Linked DNA regions of Homo sapiens: region 2 is linked to region 1. The links are contacts of gene promoters, found by promoter capture Hi-C in human tissues and cell types (Jung and others, 2019). All regions are on one chromosome and are shown on one strand. The core of a region is centred on a gene start or on the middle of the fragment in contact, and the rest is flanking DNA. Distances in the headings are between cores, read along the strand shown. Region 1 holds the start of HPDL (4-hydroxyphenylpyruvate dioxygenase like). Region 2 overlaps GPBP1L1 (GC-rich promoter binding protein 1 like 1).

What was found. The method cuts DNA at HindIII sites, captures the fragments that hold promoters and counts their contacts. A contact is called where the count stands out against the background at its distance.
Region 2: a contact is called between a fragment that was not itself captured here and the fragment with the promoter of HPDL in region 1, in 3 of the 25 tissues and cell types used here (liver, neural progenitor cells and thymus).

The regions. Positions count from the first base shown.
Region 1 is chr1:45,322,421-45,329,639 of GRCh38, forward strand. It overlaps HPDL (4-hydroxyphenylpyruvate dioxygenase like), which reads left to right and starts at 4,475. Exons shown (of 1, transcript NM_032756.4): 1 at 4,475-6,290. The coding sequence starts at 4,729. The coding sequence ends at 5,844. It overlaps MUTYH (mutY DNA glycosylase), which reads right to left. Exons shown (of 16, transcript NM_001048174.2): 16 at 6,822-7,017. The coding sequence ends at 6,886. RefSeq lists a silencer at 1,477-1,771 and enhancers at 4,507-4,556, 4,567-4,816, 5,577-5,686, 7,035-7,219. The HindIII fragment of the contact is 17,678 bases long and covers 1-7,219 here.
Region 2 is chr1:45,642,414-45,649,116 of GRCh38, forward strand. GPBP1L1 (GC-rich promoter binding protein 1 like 1) reads right to left here. Exons shown (of 13, transcript NM_021639.5): 7 at 14-86. It also overlaps the pseudogene RPS15AP10. Among named protein-coding and RNA genes, the nearest start is that of CCDC17, 22 kb to the left of the region's middle. The HindIII fragment of the contact is 8,049 bases long and covers 1,309-6,703 here.

The sequences.
Region 1 (7,219 bases), core at 3,225-5,724:
GTTTGCTGTTAATAAATATGTGGGTAAATCTCTGTTCGGGGCTCTCAGCTCTGAAGACTGTGAGACCCCTGATTTCCCACTTCACACCTCTATATTTCTGTGTGTGTGTCTTTAATTCCTCTAGCGCCGCTGGGTTAGGGTCTCCCCGACCGAGCTGGTCTCGGCAAGAAAGAACTAAAAAGCTAAGGGAATACCAAAACAACCAAATGGATTCTTGGTTTGGGAACAAAATCGTAGCATGAGTCATCCCCATTCCTGGGCCATCTCCTAATAATATGCCCAGGACTAATGTTCTTACCCTGCCTAATAAACTTTTTTCAAGGATTTTTAACTGACAGGATCATGGCCATTTCACAGACAACTACCCCAAAACATCTACAGATGGCATTACTCCTATAGTCAATCCGAAACCAGAAAACTCTCCATCCCCGTCAAAAGGAAGTAGCCAGAAAGAACATGCCGCCCCTCTTTTTTTTTTTTTTTTTTTTGGGGGGGACAGAGTCTAACTCTGTCACCCAGGCTAGAGTGCAGTAGCATGATCTCTGCTCACTACAACCTGCGCCTACTGGGTTCAAGTGATTCTCATGTCTCAGCCTTCCAAGTAGCTGGGATTACAGGCATGCGCCCACCACACCTGGCTAATTTCTGTATTTTAGTAGAGACGGGGTTTCCACTGTGCTGGCCAGGCTGGTCTCAAACTCCTGACCTCAGATGATCCACCCACCTCAACCTCCCAAAGTGCTGGGATTACAGGCATGAACCACCGTACCCGGCCCTTTTTTTTTTTTTTCTTTTTTTGAGATGGAGCTTCGCTCTTGTTGCCCAGGCTAGAGTGCAATGGTGCGATCTCGGCTCACTGCAACCTCCGCCTCCTGGGTTCAAGCAATTCTCCTGCCTCAGCCTCTCAGCTTGCTGGCATTACAGGCGTGCACCACCATGCCTGGCTAATTTTTCTTTTTCTGAGACGGAGTCTCGCCCTGTCGCCCAGGCTGGTGTGCAGTGGCTCAGTCTCGGCTCACTGCAAGCTCCGCCTCCTGGGTTCACGCCATTCTCCTGCCTCAGCCTCCCGAGTAGCTGGGACTACAGGTGCCCGCCACCACGCCCAGCTAATTTTTTGTATTTTTAGTAGAGACGGGGTTTCACCGTGTTAGCCAGGATGGTCTCGATCTCCTGACCTCGTGATCCACCCGCCTCGGCCTCCCAAAGTGCTGGGATTACAGGCGTGAGCCACCGCGCCTGGCCTAATTTTGTATTTTTTTTAGCAGAGATGGGGTTTCACCGTGTTGGTCAGGCTGGTCTTGAATACTTGACCTCAAGCTATCCACTCGCCTTGGCCTCCCAAAGTGCTGGGATTACAGGTGTGAGCCACTGCACCTGGCTGCCCCCGTCCTTTTTATCACTATAGAGTCTGGACTGACGGAGCAGGAGCACTGCCATCTTGGACAAGCACTGCCATTTTAAGTTTTGCCTTGATCAAAAACTGCCTAAATCCAAAGGGCATCAGCCTAATGGCTAAGGTCAGCATGACCATAAACCACAAATGACATCTCTGACCAGAAACGTTCCAAGCCCCTCCCCAGCCAGAGACATGCCAGCCCCAAGATAACCTCCCCTTCGGCTGGAGAGGTGTCAGCCTCAAGATAACCTCCCCTCCAACCAGAGACATTCCAACTCCACCATAAACTTCTCCCTGACACAGAAACATTCCAAGCTCTCTCCAATAAATACTGTTAGTCTGGGCCAGACGCGGTGGCTCACGCCTGTAATCCCAGCACTTTGGGAGGTGGAGGCAGGCGGATCATGAGGTCAAAAGATTGAGACCATCCTGGCCAATATGGTGAAACCCGTCTCTACTAAAAAAAATACAAAAATTAGCTGGGTATGGTGGTGCGTGCCTGTAAGTCCCAGCTACTTGGGAGGCTAGCAGGAGAATCGATTGAACCCGGGAGGCGGAGGTTGCAGTGAGCTGAGATCTCGCCACTGCACTCCAGCCTGGTGACAGAGTGAGAATCCATCTCTAAATAAATAAATAAATAAATAAATAAATAGTCTGTAAGAGAGAGCACTCCTGACTGAAATCAGCCAGAAGCCCCTCTCAGGTTTGATTTTTGAGCTGCTTTTTGTGTTTCTTTCCTCTTTCTTTAACTCTTACTGTGACTTTGAACGGAATGGGAGGCAGATTGGCCCTAAGCAGTTCCCAGCTTGACTTTTCCTTTTAGCTTAGTGATTTGGGGCCCCCAAGATTTACTTTCCTTTCTTACTACCCAGGATTCCTTGGGGTGAGCTGCTCATTGAGTAGGCTGCCTAGCCTTTGGCCCATGCCAGTGAAGCCCCTGTCCCCATCTCTCTAGTAGGCCACACAACACCTTCTGGGAGGTACCACTGGCATTGTATCATGAGATAAAATAAAACAATAACTAAATAGCCAGGCATGGTGGTGTGCACCTGTAGTCCCAAGCTACTTGGGAGACTGAGGTGGAAGGATTGCTTAAGCCCAGGAGTTGGAGCCTGCAGTGAGCTGTGATCATGCCACTACACTCCAGCCTAGGTGACAGAGTAAGACCTCATCTCTAAAAAAACTTTTTTCTTTTCTTTTTTTTTTTTTTTGAGACAGAGTTTCTCTCTTGTTGCCCAGGCTACAGTGCAATGGCATGATCTTGGCTCACTGCAACCTCCGCCTCCTGGGTTCAAGTGATTCTCCTGCCTCAGCCTCCCGAGTAGCTGGGATTACATCTAATTTTTTGTATTTTTAGTAGAGATGGGGTTTCACCATGTTGGCCAGGGTGGTCTTGAACTCCTGACCTCAGGTGATCCGCCTGCCTCAGCCTCCCAAAGTGCTGAGATTACAGGTGTGAGCCACTGTGCCCAGCTCTGAAAAACTTTTTAAAATAAATAAATATTAGAATATGTGGGAAAATAAAATTAATTAAAAAAAAAAACAGTAACTACAATAGCAACAGCTACTATTTACTGAACACTTACTCCACCTCACTTAATCACAACTCTTTGAAGTAGGTACTATTATTTCCATTTTTACAGATGGGCAAATTAAGGCTCAGAGGCGTTAAGCAACTTGCCCATACAGACAGTAAGTGTTGCTGGTGATTCAAACCCAGGTCCGTCTGGCTTTTGGAACTCATGTCCTCACATTCACTGGTCTGCAGAGTAGCACCAAGTACCTTTTACCACCCTGACCAGCTCCTGGGTACTGCCCTCCTGCCTGCAGGCCTGAACACCATGACATCCAGCTAGCCCCTGTCCCCTATGACATCCTTCTCCCTCTTGCCAATGAAACCCAGTAGATCAGGCTGCCTGACAAAAAAATTTCTTGTGATGCCTTGGACTGTGGCATTCATCCTAAATGCCTCCCTAACAGCATGGCCCATTGCTCCTCTAAGAGTCTGGCTCACACTCTTACTGAGTTTTTGCTTATGCCCTTTGCCCTTCTTGGATGCCCTTCCCTAACCCTTCAAGGGCCACTCAGTTGAAGTTCCAGAAGACTACAAATTCCTCAATCCAGTCATCTCACACAATTCTGGGTTTCAGAGCCAGAAGTGCCCCCACCACAGAAATCTCTGGCTCAATGCCAAGTCAGGAAGCTGCAAAGAGCAAGGAGGGCCTGTGTTCCAGTCCTCAAAGGATGGGGAAGGGGAATGACAGCCAGGCAGCTGTTCCTTTCAGATCCCGAACCGTCAGATTTTTCCTCCAAATCTTGCTTGGGACAAGGGGTTAAATGATGTTGACAGAAGGGTGATTGAAGAAAGAGACAGGACTGGTTGAGAGATTGCCCAACACTTTGGGAGGCTGAGGTGGAAAGATGGCTTGAGCCCAGGGGTTTAAAACCAGCTTGGGCAATATAGCAAGACCCCATTTCTAAAAAAAAAAATTATTTTTAATTAGCTGGGTGTGGTGGCGTCCGCCTGTGGTCCCAGCTATTTGTGCACTGAGGCAAGGAAAATCGCCTGAACCCAGGAGGTGGAGGCTGCAGTGAGCTGTGATTGTGCCACTCCAGCCTGGGTGACAGAGTGAGACCCTGTCTCAAAACATATAAACGTGTGTGTGTGTGTGTGTGTGTGTGTGTGTGTATTCCAGGGAACATTAAGACTTAGAGGCAAACTCCAGAACTTAAAGAAAAAACATGAAAGTGCTAAAAAATTCCGTGCTTGTGGAGAGAGAATTCCAACTCTTTCCCTGAACCCGGGCTGAGTCCCTTCGCTGTGAGGTTGGGGGGATGAGTGGGAGCCCAGTGCCTGGCGCCGAGTGAAGGCAGCCATTGTGAGTTCCTGGGCTGGGGAAGGGAGGCTCAGTGCCCAAGGATGTGACCAGGCGTGAGGCCCGGGGAAAGAGCAGCGCGGCGACCCCGCAGTATCCGAGGCGACAGGGTGTGGGGGAGGGGGTGGGGAGTCAAAGGCGGAGTCACGGGCTCCGCCCTCTTTCTCCTGCTTGGCGCGAGCACAGGCACCGCGTGGTTCTCACAACCAGCAGCTCGGCTCACTGAGACCCGGTGGTCCAGACGCTGCTCCTGGCTGGGGTGGCGCTGCAGGGAGAACCGCGAGCTCTCAGGGGTCGGCGGGTGACTTCTTTCCGGAAGAAAGCGAGGAACGCGCTCTGCGGGGTGAGCCGGACTCCCCAACTCCGGACGATCAGCCCAGGACTGAGAGCCCCGAAGTCCCCAACCACAAGTAAGCGGCCCCAGAAGGACAAGTCTAGGTCGCCGTCCAGAGCGCCATGGCCGCGCCCGCCCTTCGTTTGTGCCACATCGCCTTCCACGTGCCCGCCGGGCAGCCCCTAGCCCGGAACCTGCAGCGCCTCTTCGGCTTCCAGCCCCTGGCTTCGCGGGAGGTGGACGGCTGGCGGCAGCTAGCCCTGCGCAGCGGCGACGCGGTCTTTTTGGTGAACGAGGGCGCAGGGTCTGGAGAGCCGCTGTACGGCCTGGATCCGCGTCACGCCGTGCCCAGCGCCACAAACCTGTGCTTCGACGTGGCGGACGCCGGCGCTGCAACCCGGGAGCTGGCAGCGCTGGGCTGCAGCGTGCCTGTCCCTCCCGTTCGCGTGCGGGACGCGCAGGGTGCCGCCACTTACGCCGTGGTCAGCTCGCCTGCCGGCATCCTCAGCCTGACCTTGCTGGAGCGCGCTGGCTACCGCGGACCCTTCCTACCCGGCTTCAGGCCCGTGTCCTCTGCGCCTGGCCCCGGGTGGGTCAGCCGCGTGGACCACCTGACCTTGGCCTGCACCCCCGGCAGCTCCCCCACACTTTTGCGCTGGTTCCACGACTGCCTGGGCTTTTGCCACTTGCCGCTGAGCCCAGGTGAGGATCCCGAGCTGGGCCTCGAAATGACAGCAGGGTTTGGGCTTGGGGGACTGAGGCTTACAGCCCTGCAGGCCCAGCCGGGCAGCATTGTCCCCACTCTTGTTCTGGCTGAGTCCCTTCCGGGGGCGACGACACGACAGGACCAGGTGGAGCAGTTCCTGGCCCGGCACAAGGGGCCAGGCCTGCAGCACGTGGGGCTGTATACGCCTAACATTGTGGAGGCCACTGAGGGGGTGGCAACTGCTGGAGGCCAGTTCCTGGCTCCCCCTGGGGCATACTACCAGCAGCCAGGAAAGGAGAGGCAGATCCGAGCTGCAGGGCACGAGCCTCATCTGCTTGCTCGACAGGGGATCCTGCTAGATGGTGATAAAGGCAAGTTTCTGCTTCAGGTCTTCACCAAGTCCCTTTTTACTGAGGACACTTTCTTCCTGGAGCTGATTCAGAGGCAGGGGGCCACTGGCTTTGGTCAGGGCAACATCAGAGCTCTGTGGCAGTCCGTACAGGAGCAATCTGCCAGGAGCCAGGAAGCCTAAGGATGCCCAGGGCTGGGTGCAGCCAGCTGTCCTGCAGCTCTGGGGAGACCAGCACAGAACTGAGGAACATCTGCAGGAGGCCCAACTAGTGAAAGGCTTTGCCTCCGGGGGGCAGGTGTGACTTCCATTTCATCAGTGCCTGCCAGAAGCTGTGTCTCTCATTGGGCTCCAAAGAGGTGGGATTTTTTAAAACTAAAACATTTCTTATATACAGTCTATAATAAATATGTAAGATACAAAGAACAATAAAAGAATTACACACTAGGAAATAGAACATAACCAATACTTTCGAGTCCTCCCTGTGTCCCGCTGTGATTCTATTTCCTCCCACCCACTCCTCAAATCCTGTCATTATTAGCCCTTTGCTTTTCTGTATTGTTTCACTCCGTATGTAACATAACCCTAAATAAATTATTTCGTATTTGAGGTAGGAATTTAAAACAGAACAAATCTTCTCCTGTGCTTCCTCTCCCCCTAGGGAGCGACCACTCAGGTGGGGAGGGGCTGGGTGAGAGTTGAGCCCAACTACCTACTCCAGAGTGATGCCACCACTCCAATTAGAGCTGACCTGAGACGTAAACAGAGGGTGTTGTGTGTCAGCCACTGGCAGGTTCTCCCTGTAGCTGCCTTGCCTTTCTCCTGGGGGTTGGAGGGCAGATCAGTCTGGACAGAACACCCCCACTCCAACCCCATCTGCCCGGGGCTGGCTGGGAGTTCAGCCAGAGAAAGTCAGAACCAAGCAGAACGTCACCACTTTTCTGGGTCCCTCCCTCAGATATAAGGGGTGAGGGGGCTAGGGAGAGGGTGGAAGGCTGTCCAAAATAGCTACAAAAGGGCGGGCGTGGTGGCTCATGCCTGTAATCCAAGCACTTTAGGAGGCTGAAGTGGGAGAATCACTTGAGGCCAGAATCACCTGAGTTCGAAACCAGTCTGAGCAACATAGCGAGACCCCCATCTCAAAAAAATACAACATAAAATAACTACAAAAATAAGCACTTTACTAACAACAGGATTCTCAGGGAATGGGGGCTTTCAGAGGTGTCACTGGGCTGCACTGTTGAGGCTGTGTGCATCAGTGGAGATGTGAGACCGAAAGAAATTATCCAGGACTTGCTGGCCCATGCGGGGCTTTTTCCGACTGCACGGAGAGGACACCTGGGACCTTTTGGAACCCTGTGAAAAAATGGAAGGAGGGAGGCCTTGTAGTTGGGGGAGGGGGAGCAGAGAATCCTCTCCTTGTCCTCTCTCCCTTTCCCCGACTCTACTGATCTAGCTAGGCTTAGCCTGGAATGCTGTAGAGCTTTCATCCTGCCTCAAGTATCTGCCCCATCAATCAACCCTCCAAAAGGCTGCCTGAGGGAATCGAATTGTCCTA
Region 2 (6,703 bases), core at 4,083-6,582, 320 kb after region 1:
AAAATCTACCTACCCCATACTCCAGAAGGTGTCCCAATAGGTCTGCATGGCTGATGCTGTTTGCCAGCTTCTGGATTCAAGGAAGGCTAGGAAAAAAGGGATATGAATGGTTGATACAGAAAGCTGATCATTTTGGCACTTTTCACAAAGTAGCCATCACCATGGAACCTATCAAATAATTACATATTTTACATATTAGCAACACTTACTAATTTGACACTGTATTCAGAAACGTAACAAACAGAAAATATCAAAACACAAAATCAATAGGTATTATGTTAATATTAGGTTCTCCTGAGTTTCATTTCCTTTGATATAAGGGATTTCATTTATTTTAAATAAACAGACTAAATGTGCGAATTCCCACTTTCCTATAGGATATGTATGCCAAATAAGGAGGCACTGAAAGTTAGATGAACAAGAATGTGGATCATTTTCCTCAGATTAAAGGAGGACAATGTGGTCAGTGAAATGTATAGTATTCACTGCATTTCTAAGATGGGTGTAGGGCAGGGGCAGACCATATGCCAAGGACTGTGCTAGAAATACAATAAAGAGCCCCTGTCTTCACACGGGTCACAGTTTTGCTATAAAAACTTCTAGACAAGTTAAGTACAATAAAAGGTTACAAGGACGATGAAAAAAATTCATATTAGGGAAGAAGGAGTACTCAGTAAGAAACATCAATTCTACTTGAAAGAGAAGTGCTATCAGAAAAGGCTTTACTAACAGGTGATTTAAGAATCCTTAAAGATGAATTCCAAAGCTGGAAAAACGGTAATTCCAGGAACAGAAAGCATTAAAAAGAACAGAATATTCAGGTCTGCAAATAGTTCAGCATGAGTAGTGCTAGGGAAGGAGGGGACCCTTCTGTGGGGAAAGAGGTATCTGGCAAAGCAGGCAAGAGCCAGCTTGTGGAGGATTTCTTAGGGGAGATTAAGTTTTATTCTACAGGTAATGAGGATCCATCTTTCATGCAGTTAACATTATCTAATTATCAACTTACAACCGTCACTCTAGTAGCAGCTTAAAGGATGGATCTGAGGTATTTAAACATCAACTAAGAGACCATTAGGAGATCAATTCCATAGTCCGGGAGGGTAATAAAGGTAACAGAAGTAGAGAACGAGATAAGGGAAAGGGCAGGGAAGAGTTAAGAGCAATAGACTAGACTTAATAACTAATCGTATGACACTGCTGTCCTAGCCCAAACTTTACGATCTGGTAACAGGGTAGGAGAATGGCTTTTTTTTTTTTTTTTTTTTTTTTTTTTTGTGACAGAGTGTCACTCTGTTGCCCAGGTTGGAGTACAGTGGCACAATCCTGGCTCATTGCAACCTCCACTTTCCAGGTTCAAGCAATTCTCCTGTCTCAGCTTCCTGAGTAACTGGGATTACAGGTGCGCACCACCACACCCAGCTAATTTTTGTATTTTTAGTACAGACAGGGTTTCACCATGCTGGCCAGGCTGGTCTCGAACTGACCTCAAGTGATCCACTCACCTTGGCCTCCCAAAGTGCTGAGATTACAGGCATGAGCCACTGTGCCCAGCAGGAAAATGGCTTTTCAGCACAATTGCCTGTGAACATTATACAAACAACAAAAAGACACCCAGGCTCCACTACAGAGCTTCAGAATCAGAATCTCCAGGGGCAGGGCCTCTAGCAGGTATGTATTTTCCAAGCAATCAAGGTGAGAACCACTACAATAGGAGAACAAGCACAAATGCAAATGAAACTACCAACTCTCTATATAAGTGGACAAATCAGTGACAGATTTTCAAGGACAGGTAAATACATTCCTCTAGATGGAGTGGTAGAGGCAGAAGGAGTGCCCAGCCATAAAAGCTGTGGTTGTTTCCTTGTTTCATTTTAATAGGCATGTTGTACCCAGGGTTCTCAGAGACAATGCTCCTATTTATACAGTATCTTTGATCTCTTTCTACTGTTTTAAAAAATACAGTTTTAAAACTTGTAAAATATAAACAGGAAAAATATAAAACAAATGAATAAGTTAATGGGTAAAAGTTCTTTTAAACACTACATGGTTTAAGCAACATAACATTACCAGACAAACCAGAAAGACATTACAAATCTCATTAGAAAAAAACCCCAAAACTACTCATACTTATGGTGATCACTGCATTTTTTTTTTTTACTAACCCATTGTGTCTCCCTTGACACTATAGTTTTGTCTCCAAAAACAATCTCAGCTTTTAATCTACTAGTTTTTAGAAAATCTTAAGCCTCTTTCTATAAATTGGTAGTTGGTTCTAGAGGTTACAGAATCCTTAGTGGTTTTGTATTCTTCCATTAGGAGACACACACAAATAACATGTGGTTGTGCTTCTTTTAGTGATGCTGGCAGACACTGGTGCTCATAGCCTAAAACTGTCAGCTCAATACAAGATGCAAAAACAATGATCTAATTTTACAATTCTTTATAAAGTAGTATACTTCCATAAATAGGAACTTCCCCTATTTGGCAATTCAACAGTACAGTTCATATAGAAAAAATATGATACATGCTTGTTCCTAAGGTGAGGTAGGTATCATTGTGAATTCACAGATTTAAATCCAATTTGATGTGATTCAACCCTCGTCGTTATTATTATTAATTGATGCATAAAACTGTCCCATGTTTGGCCTATGGAACCCTCTTCAATTTGGCTTCTAAATCCTTTTGCTACAACCCTAAGTAGTTCTTTACTTCTTTGTTATCTAGTTTGAAAAAATATTCCAAGCTCTTCTTTTAAGTATGCTGTCTGGATAAACTATTTCAAGATCACAATCCAGGCAGTAGAGCCACTCATTGCTATGGGGTTGTTCACTGTTTTTATGTCTTTTCAGTGGACAGAACCGCCTAGAAGTATGTATTTTTCACTCCAAAGCTAAAACACCTCATAACTTATTACTGATATTCCCAATTCAAACTGAGTACCCTTGTGGATTTTACGGAACATCTATTTTACGTTTTTATTTCCTCCTACAAGAATCCTGATTCTCAAGCATACAAAGTATAGAATATCATATTTAATTGCTTTATTCCATATTATGCACAAGTTTCAGAATAGCAATGTCAGTATTTCACCAGTGACCAAAATGTTTTGTTTTTTTTGGACATGTTCTCCCCATCTTCCCACTTTAAAAAAGTTATACTATGTCCAGATTGTGAGATCATATAACTATCACATGCTAACTCTCTTTTAACCCTCATTTCTTCTTAGCTCTACAATTAACCATACATTTAGTATTTACCACCATTCCTTTTGTAATCTTTCTGGTTAGTTTGTCAGAAGCTTGTTCTTCAGTAGTTCTCAGGAAAAGTCTTGGGAACGATATTCCGAAGTTTTTTGTTTTTTTTTTTTTTGAGGCATTTTATTTGTAAATATGTATTGCATCCCTAGAAACAAAATCCAAGGATTTTCCCTCCTGTGTGTTTTCGTCTTGCTTCTTCATGGTCCATGATACCAGCTAAGGCTGTCAATATGACGAAGTCAAATGGTTGGGATAGAAGCAGATTGTTCTGCCGTTTTTCTAGATCTTTGAGTTGCAAATCAAAGCTGGGGCTCTACACTTGTTTAGCCTGCCTGTGAGGTTCACAATTTTCCCAGCTCTGTTATCATCAATGATTTCAAATTTGCCAATGTAACGATGCTTCATCATCACAGCTAGAAGTTGGACAATGACTTTGGAGCATGGCCTAGTAAGAACCGGCGTTTCCCTCTCTTTTCGGCATTGGTGATACTCTTGAGAGCAACAGGTAGGATGTTCACACACACCATTGTGGCAGCGCGAAACAATGCCGGAAAGAGCAATATTCCAAGTACTTACACATTGATGTTTGTCTGTGATCTTTATAACTGAACATTAGCTTGACAAAGCACAAAATCTTTGGCTCACATTTTCTTTATTGTAATTGTTACTCCATTTACTTGTTATAAAGCTTTGCTGTCACAGTCTATCTGGTTTTCTTTCTCTTAACAACTCAGTCTTTATGCCTGAATGGCCAAAGGATATCTTTCTTTTTTTGTTCAAGTCTAGTATTTTGTAAGAGTATGTCTTAGTCATCCTGGCTATCCTTTCAATTTGTAGATTCAAATCTAAATGTATTTCAGAAAAATGTTCCTGAATTATACTTTTCAGTATTTTTTTTTTTTTTGAGACGGAGTCTCACTCTGTCCCCAGGCTGGAGTGCAGTGGCGCGATCTCAGCTCACTGCAAGCTCCACCTCCCGGGTTCACGCCATTCTCCTGCCTCACAGCCTCCCGAGTAGCTAGGACTACAGGCGCCCGCCACCATGCCTGGCTAATTTTTTGTATTTTTAGTAGAGACAGGGTTTCAACATGTTAGTCAGGATGGTCTCGATCTCCTGACCTCGTGATCTGCCCCCCTCGGCCTCCCAAACTGCTGGGATTACAGGTGTGAGCCACCGTACCCGGCCACTTGTCAGTATTTAAGCTATTCCTTTATTTTGGTTTTCTTTCTGGGGGCGGGGTGGGAAGATCCTATTATATATCTATATTAGATCTTTTCTGCCAAACTTTTTTTTCCCAGTTTTAATTTTTTACCTATGTATTTCTCCTTCATTTAAAAAATTTTCCTTCGCTGTCTAATTCTTGAAAAATATTATTTATTCTCTTTATTCTTCAGTATTTTTCTGAAATTTTTTATTATTACTTCTTTTCAAGAGTTCTAGCCCCTTATTTTGAGTTTTCCCAGATGATTTTTTTTTTTAAACCAACTTCTTAGGATTTTTTTTTTTTTTTTTCTGAGACCAAGTTTCATACTCTTGTTGCCCAGGCCGGAGTGCAATGGTGCGATCTTGGCTCACTGCAACCTCTGCCTCCCGGGTTTACGTTCTTTAATGTCCTGGTTATCTTCTCCCTACCGCTTTTATCTGAACCTTTCCTTTCGTCTCTACTAACTTGTCTCTCTGCAGCTCAATCTGGATTATATTTCCAACAGTTTGTCCTCAGTGACGGGCTTTGTTCTGGAAGGGTATAGTGGCCAGCTAGCATGAACAACGATAGAACCCTGTGCTGGTTACCGCTTCTTAGTCACAAAGTCATCCCTTCTGCCTGTTGAGCAAAAATGTGCCTGGACACTTTAAAACTTTTCCTTTGACAGCTGGCATGTTAACTTCTGCCAGCGGAGAACAATGGAGAGATTTTTACTTCCTGTTCCTGTGTGTTTTTCAGCAGGCTCCCACAGCACCCAGTTCCTCAAAGCCAGGTTCTGACATATAAGTGAGCTCAGAGACCAGCAGCTTCCCTCAGCACCTCATCTGAGTAGTTTTGTAGCAGAGTGACACCTCTCATGAAAAGCCTTTCAGCACGCTTCCCCAGAGAAGCACATCAGCAATTACTCTGCCATTCAGTGAGCCACAACTGAGCCCTTTCTAACCAGGTATGAATCTCAGCCCTGGGGTGGTGGTAGGGAAATGGGGGACTCATTCTTGGACACACTGTCTTAGCCCTAAGGGTAGTGGCTGCTCCTTGTATGTATGCATATATGTCTGTGTGTATGTTTTTTTCTTTTTTTTTGAGACAGGGTCTCACTCTGTTACCCAGGGTGGAATGAAGTGGTGCCATCTGGGCTCACTGCAGCTACGACCTGCCAGACTCAAGCAATCCTCCCACCTCAGCCCCCTGAGTAGCTGGGACTACCAGGTACCCACCACGTCCAGCTAATTTTTAAATTTTTTGTAGAGACAAAAGTTTCACCACGTTGCCCAGGCTGGTCTCAAACTCCTGGACTCAAGCAATCGCCCTGCCTCGACCTCCCAAAGTGCTGCAATCACAGGCGTGAGCCACTGAACTGTGACTACGTGCTATTTCTATTTTCTTTAAAGATCTTTTTACTTTGTACTAGTCAATCCTTCATTACTCCAATCTTGCTATAGTTAAATTCCTTATATTAACTTTCTCTATTCAAACTACTGTGTGGTTTGAACTCTTGACTGGTCCAGTCAGATCCTTCATACCTTATCCCAGAGCCCCTGTATTTACTTGTTATTCCATTACGGAAAACTACTCCCGATTAACTGCTGCTCTTCTCAAATATGCCCTACGAGCTTTCCAGAAAAACGGTTGGCTCTGTTAGCATTCTTTATGCTGTCAGGTGCTCTGCTGCTTCCCTTCAGTTCCCCCTGCACAAATGCTAGTATTAACCAAGCCTCTTATATAGATTTTGGTGGTTTGTCCCTATCCCTTTACGGGTATGTGGGGAAATATCATTTTGCTTTGACGTAGATGGCATCTGTAGATTTTGTTGGTTCCTCAACTCTACTTGCTTTGTCTTATTTTTAACTTTACTTTAAAATAATTTCAGGGCTGAGCACAGTGGCTCACGCCTGTAATCCCAGCACTTTGGGAGGCTGAGGCAGGCGGATCACTTGAGGTCAGGAGTTTGAGACCAGCCTGACCAACATGGCGAAATCCCGCCTCTACTAAAAATACAAAAATTAGCTGGGCGTAGGGGTGCGCATGCCTGTAATCCCAGCTACTTGGGAGGCTGAGGCAGGAGAATGGCTTGAACCCACGAGGCGCAGGTTGCAGTGAGCCAAGATCGCGCCATTGCACTCCAGCCTGAGACACAAGAGTGAATCTCTGTCTCAAATAATTTTGTGCAGGAAACAAAAGTTTTCACTGCGACCTGCTGCATGAGATCAGGTATGGAATTTTCTACTTGTGGCATGACAT